Linked DNA regions of Homo sapiens: region 2 is linked to region 1. The links are contacts of gene promoters, found by promoter capture Hi-C in human tissues and cell types (Jung and others, 2019). All regions are on one chromosome and are shown on one strand. The core of a region is centred on a gene start or on the middle of the fragment in contact, and the rest is flanking DNA. Distances in the headings are between cores, read along the strand shown.

Region 1 (5,784 bases), core at 1,879-4,378:
TCAATTAATTGGGCTGAATATTAAGACAGCAAGTTCAGGACTTCTTTTCTTTCTCCTTCTAGAGTTGCTTTCCCCCCTTTTAAAGCAAATTTTGCCTTACCTTCTGCAAGCCATGTTTCCTGTAATTGACTTAGATCTTGAAAGAGTTCTAAAAAACAAGTCAAAGACATAAACATAAGATTTGCAAATCTTTAATCTTCATTAAATGGAAATATTTGTCATGAAATTGGTATTAAATATAAATTTAATTTCAAGAGACGCAGTCAACATAAAAATAAAAAAAAGAGGCATAACTTAAATATCTCAATAATACTGCCTACTTTTCATGCCTATTAAGCAACTCTTTAAGAAATTATTTTAGTCAACTAAAGAATAAAGTCAATCATCTTTTCTTCTTTTTAACAAACAGCTTAATAAATAAGCTCAGGGATACCAGAATTCACAAAAAGGCTGAGGTGAATATGTGTCTGTTCACTGAAATCTTCCTTAAATATATTTAACTCTTGCTAAAATAGTAGTAGGGGGAAGATTAGAAAGACTGAAAAGCATTTTATTTATATCTTCTGAATCTTACATAAAATATATAATGGTACATGGTACAACTGTCAAAGTATTATGTTTTCAACTTCAATACCTCGAAACTAAAAGAAACCACTTCAAATACAAGTTTTTAGAGGAAAATTTCTACATTAATAGGTTTATAAAAGTCAGAAAGATAATTCTTTGGCACCAGGTTCTCATCAAGTTCTAAACTATATGGTCATGTTAGGGAGGGAGAGAGGGAGGTATTTAAATGGTATGAAGATTTGAGGAAGTTTCAGAATTCAGTATATCTAATTAAAATTGCCAACTAAACTTTGATAATTAAATCTAAGTATATTAAGTTTATTATGAATGTCCTCATATGGCTAAAATAATTTGTAACATACTGACATCCTAGCAACAGTTCATAAAAAGAATCTGCAAACTAATTTCCCAAATAGTATTATAATTATTAAGGAGGCCTTAAGTATGATTCAGTGAACACATTATGGTCGATAAACAAGGTATTATGACCTCACAATTTAGTCATCAAAATCACCCTTGAAAATTCTGTTAATAGTAGATGGTTTTAGTGTAAAGGAGGTGGGAAACCAAACAATCACTAATACTGTTTAACTTGTAATAAAGGAGAAAGAAAAAAGTAAGCAGTGTACATAGCTGCTGAATTTGTCCCACTGTATTGGATATTTTTAAATTGTTATCTTAGTGAATGGGGTGAGTTATATGCCCCATGGACAAAGGTATTTAAACACAAAACAATGATTAAAAGAAGGTTGTCATTGAGAAGTTTTTATTTCCTTCTTTCATTACTTTGTGATAGGACCATAAAATAGTCTCCCATGCAAACTGCCGCATTATGTAAATCGTTCCAAGTTAAAGTCTTAGTTAGATTCAGTAATTTCAAAGTTTATTATTTTTAAGATAAGACTGAAGTGCTCCTTTTCTTTTAGCAGGGTGGAGAGTGTAGGTAAAAAAATGGGGATTCAGCCCAAAATCAAACCTCACCTTCTGAATCATGAGCCAGATCTCTGTTAATGAATTTTCTTTTCCTGACATTTGTTGGTTTCTCGTTACAATTTCTCCCACGCTGACTCTACAAAGGGAAAGATAAAATCCTTTAAAAGAATGTAAACCTCAGATCACACACACGCACACGCGCGCGCACACACACACACACAGACATGCATACATAAGTCTAATGGATCTTCTCTGAATAGAAAAATAGAAGTCCATAGTATCAACTCTAATATTCATTTTCTCACTTATTTGACAGTGAAAGCTTATGTTAAGCAGGCAGGGAGAGTTGCTTCCCAGTGCCGATCTTAGCACATTACTATTTATCAATCATATATTCATGGTATCTCAGCATCAAAACAACCTGAAGCATTTACACTTAAAGTTGTTTTTAGGCTGGTTCAATGCTAGATTAAAACAGTGGGTTTTATTCTCTCTTGGACAGCCCCTCCTCCCCACCCCACCCCCACAAAAAAAAAAAGCAAAAAGAGTAGAGAAATGAAAAAAAAAAAAAAGAGAAAATGAGAAAAAAAAAAGAAACAAAAACACCCCATATAAACAAAAAGTGTCAGCATTTGTCTCAACTTCATTCTTTTCAATGTGGCAGACAAACCCAGCCAAAAACTTTGAGTGCAGCAGCTGCTGCTGCCCTCCATCTCCTCTTCCACTCATGTTGGGCACTTTAATCAGAAAAAGGGGTCTTAAAAACAAAACTATGCCTTATCCAAATCACTGAAAGGTAAGCTCATTTTGAAGACTGGGCTTCTAGAAGCAGAGTCGCCCTACAGTGGCAACAAAGCAGATAAGTATCTGCAATCCCAACCCCCGTGCCCCCTCCCTTCTCATTTTCTCCCTCTCCCCACCCCCGACGGAGTCAAGTTTATAAACAGCAACTTTCAAACTGATCACTCACATTGGTGACCATGTAAGGCACTTGCTGGTCATAAAATCCATCCATGCTGCTGCTCTTCGCAAATCTCAGCTCAGTATTTTATATTTTGAGCATTTAGCTGGAGATTTCCTCAGGATCTGGACTTCTATCAACCTAGAGGGGAACAAGATGGCTTTTAGGCTTAAAAAAAAATCATGAATGAAGCTCTTGAATTTGCATAGCTAATTACCCTCCGACAGTCCCATTCACAAAAATAACCCTCCCTACACCGCCTCCTTCACCTGGATCCAAAGAGAGCCAACAGAGTTCACAATTTACATATTTTCGGTAGTAGCAAAAATCCGAACAAGAGGCGATGTATTTATTTACACTCTCGATGTTTCCCTGCGCGGTCGGTGTACCCCGGGCAGCTCTGATTCGCAAACGTGTGCAAAACTAGCAATGGCGATCAACGAGACTTGCTTTGCACCTAACGGGACTAAAGAGACGGAGACACCTCTTTCATCAGGATAGTTTTTGCGACCCACAACCATGCAATTATCTGGAGAGACATAAAAAGTTGTTGGAAAGACCCACCTGAAGGCCACGCTAGGCGAAAGGCTGCAAAAACTTCCCTCCAAATTTAATAAAAACATTAATTATAGCCCAGCACTTCCCCCTTGGAAGCCGAAAGCGCCTCTGACAGAGCTCAATTCGGTGGTTTTTCCTCTACTTCTCCTCCAGGGGCCTCCAATCCAAACTGATGGATCGCTGCCTCCCATTGGCTCCGCGTCTCTTTCACAAGATCAGATTTCGGGCTGTCAATCAGGCGGCTTGCTGCCCCTTCCCGCGGGTCTCCCTCGCCCCTCTGCCCTAGGGGGTGCTCGGCCGGTAGGCGCTGGGTCCTCAGCCTGGAAGCGCCACGGAGAGACTCGATTTCCTCTGTAACCCGCTGCTTATTGTTAAGGCGCCTGGGGATACTGAAACCGTGTGTTTCGAGTCGCCAGTTCCCATTATTGGGGTGTTAGGTCCACTATTGGGCTGGTTTCCTTAAAGTACTGTTGTGCGGTTCTGGTATACCCTTAGAGCCGCGATCCACAAAGCCCGTACCGCCTTATTCAGCTGCCCTCCCCTCAGGATCTCCAACCTCTCTACTCTTGCCCTGACTAGGAGCTCACCTCGCTCTCTATCCTCATTCCCACTCAGCTTTTGGCCCAATTTATTTTCCCGTTTTTCAAAACCCACCATCACCATTATGGTTTATCGAAACATTTTTTAAACAGTCATCCTCAACTAAAATTAGATCCTATCGTTCGTGGGACAGAAACATAAAGAATCTATAAGGAAGGCACCTAGGAGATGCAGAATTGCTGATTAGCAGAGGTTGTGATGGGAGGACAACAGAGCAAGCTAGGTGAAAAAGTATAAGTCAAAATGGTCCCTACGTGTGCACTGGGAAAAGGTACTTCCAGTCCACTGTGGCTGTGGGGAGGAGGAGGGAGTGCTTGGGGTTGCTCGTATATCCTAGAACCCGCACGTTTCCTGAGCTTTTGTTATGTATACACGGAGGCGGAGGGTGTCACTTACTGTACTTGACGCTTTCACTTCCTCTCCAGCTTTTAAACAGCCAGAGCCCAGGGTTGGGGGCGAGCGGTGAGATGGCTCGGGTTTCAAGGACAATAACTAGGACGTTAAGCAGTGAGGGCTGCATCTCTGAAGCCACTTGCCCTGATCCTCCTATGGGACTCAGAACAGTAAAGCGTCACTTTAAGGAGCCAGTGTCCAACAGCGGACGGGAGGCCGCGGGGATAGGACCAGGGACTCAATGCTGTTGAAATTCATTTGTGACCAGAACTAGTGACCAAAAGACGTTTCCGGCAGCTGTTCCGCCCGTTAGGAAACGTGCTGCAGTTCTCAATTTCTATTTGAAAGTTTCCTTCCTTAAATAGAACGTTATGGAGACACATTAAAATGGAGTGTAAGAGCGCACAGCACTCAACCCCGGACCTGGGCAGGAGAAAGATCTACTTAAAAAAGAAGCAAACAAACAAACAATCAACACTTATTACTGGGAAAACAACCAATAACTATGGACAGCAAAGACAGACCCCGCGCATTCCCGGAAACTACTAAATCGGAGTTCACAACGCGCGCACCTATAAGCATTTTGAGCGGGAACTGCATTTTAACCCCGGCCAAGGAGAGATTCCAGGAAGCGCCTGGGCCCCGAGGCTGAACAGTGAAGCTCATGGGTACTATCTGAGGGTGCAACCAAGCAGGGGGTCAATAACAAGGGTCCTCCACCACCCTGCACTCCTGGAATAACCCAGCGCCTGTAATCTGAGCAACAGTTTCCAAAGACCTTCTCTGCAGCCCGAGCCTGACGGGTATCCAGGGTAACCGCGAGGGGGCGGAGCTTCGGGTTAGGTCCCGGCGAGGTTCTTCCCGCAGCCAATAACGAGCCGTAAATCCCCAGCCCATTGTTGTTTATTGCTGACCCCTCAGCGCTCCGCTAGGAGATTGGCCGCTTTAGGGAAGGGGGCGGAGTCCCGCCCGCCCCAACAGCCACCTTTCGTCTCCATTCACAAAATTCCGGCCCTTCTTGGTCACGTGGTTGGGGGCGTGGAGGGGTAGAGGAAATGACACAACAAAGGCCCAAGTATCCCAAACCACAAAACTTTTTTCAGCTCGCTGCCTCCTCTTTGTCCTGTCCCTGAAACAGATACTAGATGAGGAAAAAGAGGTTGGGGTCTGGGAGTAATAACAAGAGAGAAAAAAATTAAGACCGAAATTAAAGGAAGGCTCACGTGGGGATAATTCCGGCGTGCACTGCTTAGACAGCTTTTGCACTAGAGGAAAGAAAGAATTGAGAGTGGGGAGAAAGTCTTAAGGACTGGGAACTTTTGCTTGCTGCTTCAAGTCATTGCTTTTAAAGGTGCAAACTGTTCGACTGTAGATGGATTTCAGTTTTTTCACTTAACATTCTGTAATTTTCATTTCTACCTTTTTTTGTATCCCACAGTGTCTTGTTAGTTTTTTAAAGCTTTTATGTATTATTAGTATTATATATTTTTAGGAATATTGATGGTTTTCGCTGGCTGATAGCTTTAGTTTCCATTTCCAAAGACTTATCACTCCTTCCCAGGCCCCCATAAGCTCTGCGCCCCTTCTCCCTCCCTTTAGTGGACTGGCACTCTCAGGCGCTGCGCTGTTAAGCCTCAGATTTTACTACGTATTGCGGTGGCTTCATATTTTCCCTTTTGAGTTCTTTAAACGAACTCATATCTTTTAACTCTTTGATCTTCATAGTAACTGAAAATGATGTTCTCGTGTGAATAAGCAGCTAGTCTCGCTAC
Region 2 (5,223 bases), core at 1,551-4,050, 690 kb after region 1:
ACTGTAATTAATGCCCATTAGGTTACATTACATGAAATAAACGTATCTTTCCATGTTCATCCATAATTAGCAGCTCTGCTTCTCAGGGGCATATAAACTTCTCTATAAAAAAGTGATTTAATTGTATTAGGCACTACTGGTCTTTGTCAAGAGGCAAGAAGTGTTGAAGATAGAGAAGCAGCTGAATGCACAATAGAACTAAATAAACTGATACTCAGAGCAAATTAAAAGGTATAGTTTCCTCAAAATAAAATTAGTGACTTGTTTAAAATGTATTATTAATTTATTGGACCTAGTAATTAACTTTCTTAGAATCTGCCATGGCCATGGATGTTTGGATTTAGAGTTAACAGATTAGCAAGTGTTGGGATGGATCAATTTCTCCCAAAAGATATGCTGAAGTCCTAACTTCTGGGACCTTTGAATGTGAACTTAATTGGAAATACGGTCTTTCTAGATGTATTTAAGCTAAGATGTTGGTTTAGCTGGACCCTAATCCAATGACTGGTGTCCTTATAAGAAGAGGGGAATCTGGACAGAGAGACAACGGCACAGAGAGGAGAAGTCCCTCTGATAACATAGGTCGATATCTGAGTGATGCACTACAAGACAAAGAATTCCAGGGATTGCTGGCAACCACCAGAAGCTAGGAAGAAGCAGAAAAGGATTCTTCCAGAAAGCCTTCAGAGGGAGGATGACCTGCTGACATTTGGAATTCTAGCCTCCAGAGCTATGAGTGAATACATTCTTGTTGTTTTAGGCACCTATTATATGACATTTTGTTACAGCAGCCCTAGGAAACTAATAAACCCAGTACTATGAAAACGGCACTAAAACCAAAGAGAGATTATGGGTCTTAAGACTCTGCTGCACTATGGATGTCACAGAGAAAGAGCTTTGGCTCTTTAATCTTGGGCAACTTCCTTAAAACTGAGAAAACAGACGCTAAGAACCCTCTACAAAAAACAGATCTGAGATAAAAACCTATTTGTGTTTACAGCAAGAAAGTGTTGAAATATTATTCTTGATTACAGTGTAAAGCTAAACACGTGACTCTGAAGGCCACAGGGGCAGGACATACTGAGTCTTATGCCAACGCTGACTACAGATGCAGTCAGAGGCCTCAGCCTCCTCCACACCTCCATCCATGTGTTTCCAACAATTTGCAACTGACATGGTAAAGGACGACTAAGCTCTCTGTATAGTTATTTGAGGGTTACTGATGTAAGAAAGGATGACAAAAATAAAATTAATTTGATGATAGTTTGGGGGCATTTAGGCTAGTTTCCCAGAAGGAAGGAAAGAATCGAAGACTCAGATAGAATCATGCAATAGATGAGCTTACCAGAGTGTGTGTGAAGGGGCAACTCTGTATATTGGGATTTGGGAGTTTCAGAGCATAGGTACTGACAGTTGATTCCATGAAATTCTGGTCTTTGCAGAGCCAAATAAATCTAGTATGGGATTTCCCAGTTTGATTGCCGCTGTGGTCCTGAGTTTTGTCTAGGCGGTCGTAAGGCACTCCCCAAGACATAGGAGGATCTATAAGTTTAGTAACCATACTATCATCTGTTAAACAGAGTCACACAATGCAAGAAAATTCTCCTAACCAAGAAGTCTATATTTGATAATATGCAGGAATACCTTATGCTTGTATTAAGACTAGAATCTGGCAGCTAATAAATACATTTTCTTAACCATCAACATTATGACGTTGTTTGTAGCCAAGAGTGTTAAAACTGAGGGCATCATGTTAGGAGTACGGATCATTTTACAAGTCGTGAATCAAATTTGTATGACAGGTTTAGTTTATGCATCATATTTCTTGGAGATATACTTGAGGAAAAAATATACAATGTGAAAGCCAATGTGAAAAATGTGTATCATTTTCAGGACCACCTATAAAGTGTAAAAGTGAATATCATCTTTGCTGTGAACTTAAAATTGCTCTAAATCATAAAGTCTATTTTAAAAAGCAAAAATCAACAAAATTATACAATAGAATTCAAAAGCTACAAATTTTTTTTCTTTAAGATACTGGTAATATTTTGTTTCCTGATCAGGTACTGCTTACAGAACATTCATGTGGGGAAAATTCATTGGGCTCTGCCCTTTGGATATAAATGCCTTTCTGTATGTACACTTTCCTTCAATGAAAAGCTTTTTATAGTTTGAAAGAATGAATAAGACCTACTATGTGATAGCACAACAGGGTGACTACAGTCAGTAATAATTTAATTGTACATTTTAAAACAACTAAAAGAAGGTAATTGGATTGTTTGCAACTCAAAGGATAAATGCTTGAAAGGATGGATACCCCATTCTCCATGATGTGCTTATTTCACATTGCATGCCTGTATCAAAACATCTCATGTGCCTCATAAATGTATATACCTACTAAGTACCCACAAAATTAAAAATAAAAAAATTAAATAAGTGAATATCATCAACAATAGAAAGTTGCTTAAACTTATCATCATATTTCGTGGACAAGAATATAAGAAAAAGACACAGCTGGGTCCTTCTCAGTGTAAATAAGATGCTGAAGGCTGACTATTGTTTTAAAGATAACCTATATCCCAAATCAGCAAAATCCTAAACACCAGGGTCCTCATCAAGAATAGAAATGAACTACAGCATTGAAGATGCTGCCTCTTTAGTAAAATAACCAATAGCGCACCAGAGAAAATCAAATGTTTACTATTTAAAATTTAAAAAAACATTTTTGTTCAGTTATCTTTGTATTTTTTTCAAGCCAAGGCATAGAAATCCTTAGCTCATTTTTAAATATACATCCAGAAATTCCCATTCATGTTAAGGGATTCAGTGCCATATGTAGGAAAATCATATAATAGAAACCAGCTTTTCCTGGAAGTGAATTAAACACTTGGAAATAATTTCAGAGTTTATGACAACTTCCAGTAGCACCTAATTTAGAGCCAGATCTATGTTTATTAGAAAAAGCTGTCTCAAGATAGAAAGAAAAAGAAAGTGTGTGGATGTCTGTGTGCATGTGTGCCAGCATATAGTTCTATGGATGGAGTTAGGAAGAGTGGCTGCGCTGGTCAGAGAAGAAAATGGGATCTGAGAAGTCAAAAGGAGGAAAAATGGAAAATAAGTGTTCATAGGAATTTAGAGGAAAATAAGAAGAGAAATAAGCTACTTTTCTAAAGAAAAATTTGAAGACCTGATTTGGAGGCACATATTTACTGGTTCACCTGTTACACTGGCCCCTAATATTTTGCAGTTTGGGGTACTTCCTAAGACTGGCATTTACTGAAGCAGAAATGTTTCCATGGCATTGGAAACCTTTAAACATTACTGTTAGGAATTTAGTATCTTAATAAACAATATTATCTCTATATCATAGCAAAAGTTAGTAATTCATTTTTATGAAATAGGTGTTATTTTTTCAAGCCTAAATAAAATCCCTCAACTTCCCATCCTGGTGAGTCCTGCCTGACCAGTGAGAGCTTACCTTGACAAGCAATGATTCACAACATGTTATACAACGAAGGTCAAGAAAACACAGTTTCAGAAGAAATGAACAGGTATAAGCAGTGGGATATTAAGGATGTTAGTAATCAAGACAGAAAAGAGAACTGAGGTGAATATTTTGCCTGTCACAGAGGATTGAAATATAAAACACAGAGACTGGTTGCCTAATTATCAGAAGGCAGTTTTCCACTGATCTTTCCTAAGCTTTTCGTATTTTTAATTTTGAAGTGGCTAGATTTACAAATGAACAGAAAATTTCATTCTAAGAGCCTAACTTTATATCTACAAGATAGCCAACTAGTAAATCAAGAAACTGCAAGTATGAACTGAAAAATGGGTGTGAAAATTGATTCTTAAGTATTTGTTTAAGTTTACTTGCATATCTGATGGAGATTTGAGTATTACAGGATGATATTATAAAACAAAACTTAAATAGTACATATGTTTGAAATTTAATATTCTACTGTAAGAATAGCATATCAGAGATTAAAGTGATCTTACTGAAGACTTTTCTACACTCAGTACTTTGTCAAGAACTTCAGGTGATTAGGAAAAAATGTGTGACATGGACAAGCAACAGGAGCGGGCCACAGTTAACAGTGCAAACGATGTTAGACTATGGTGTGAAACCAATGGAGAGCATTTGAGTTTTTCCTTTGGATGTGGAATGTAAGTACAGAAACTATTCAGAATCAAGATATATTAGCGTCAAGAAAAATTTCAAGGAAGACAGGTAACCTAACTTGTTTCCTAAGGTATGATTAGAATTTAAGACAGGTGCATTCAAGGGACCGGGATGAACAAAATAGTAGGCATGAGGGAAACATGGCCTCCCCAAGGGACTGCCAACAGAAATACACAGCTATGGCAGAGGGTGTGTGTAGAAGAGGAATATTATATACAGTTATGTTTAGGTTTGATTCTGATTTCTAAAGAACTAAAAACCAACTTGATGCAAGGGGTGTTGAGGGCTGCATTTATTATCACAGAACTATTATAGATTGCTAAAGAAGGCATATAACAAACTAGTATTTTCAGAAGATCTTTCTGGAGGTGGTATGCAGCCTGCATTATAGGAAAAGTACCTTCTGTTAGGGAGATGAGCCAAGAGATTTTGACTCTAATCTAGTCAAGAGGTGCTAAGAGCTTGCACTAGGGCTGCGAATGTGGAGACAAAACCTCAAATCTGAGAGAGATATTTTAAGTAGGAAATGACAAGACTCAGTGACAGGTTGTGTACAAGAGATAAAGGTAAAAGACAAGAGTAAAAAAAATTGACTTCAAACTTTTTTTCCAGTGACTGGAAGCATGACAATACCAGGTCTGATAGAATGAGAGAGTTGTAGTAACAGTCTTTGGGAATAAAAATCAGTCAGTTGGGCTTAGGATTTAGTGAGATTCAGGACCACAGGATTCTGGATGTTTTTTTGAGTGCATGCAGGTGCTGTTCTGACTCAGACTGGACAACTATCCATCCTTCTACAGGAGAGAGAGAAATGACGTAAGTGTTCTTCATGGAGTGCCCTCTGGAAAACCAGGGATTGGTTTATGTGCACCCAAATGTATTTATGTATTTCATAATACCCACAAATATAATTGTTACTTACTAAGCACTTAATATGTATGAGGTCTTGTCCTAAACATATCTACAGAGAATTTTTTGCCCCTTTAATCCTCATAATAATCTAATAACTTAGGTATCATTAACTCCATTTGACACATTAG

What was found. Contacts are between HindIII fragments. The study calls those that stand out against the background at their distance.
Region 2: a fragment that was not itself captured here is called in contact with the fragment with the promoter of ETV1 in region 1 in 3 of the 25 tissues and cell types used here (dorsolateral prefrontal cortex, lymphoblastoid cells and mesenchymal stem cells).

Annotation. Positions count from the first base shown.
Region 1 is chr7:13,986,538-13,992,321 of GRCh38, forward strand. ETV1 (ETS variant transcription factor 1) reads right to left here and starts at 3,129. Exons shown (of 14, transcript NM_004956.5): 1 at 3,026-3,129; 2 at 2,731-2,927; 3 at 2,471-2,602; 4 at 1,549-1,636; 5 at 101-148. The coding sequence starts at 2,515. RefSeq lists an enhancer at 4,649-5,150. The HindIII fragment of the contact is 5,948 bases long and covers 563-5,784 here.
Region 2 is chr7:14,674,159-14,679,381 of GRCh38, forward strand. The region is part of intron 12 of DGKB (diacylglycerol kinase beta); the gene reads right to left. Among named protein-coding and RNA genes, the nearest start is that of DGKB, 230 kb to the right of the region's middle. The HindIII fragment of the contact is 4,743 bases long and covers 430-5,172 here.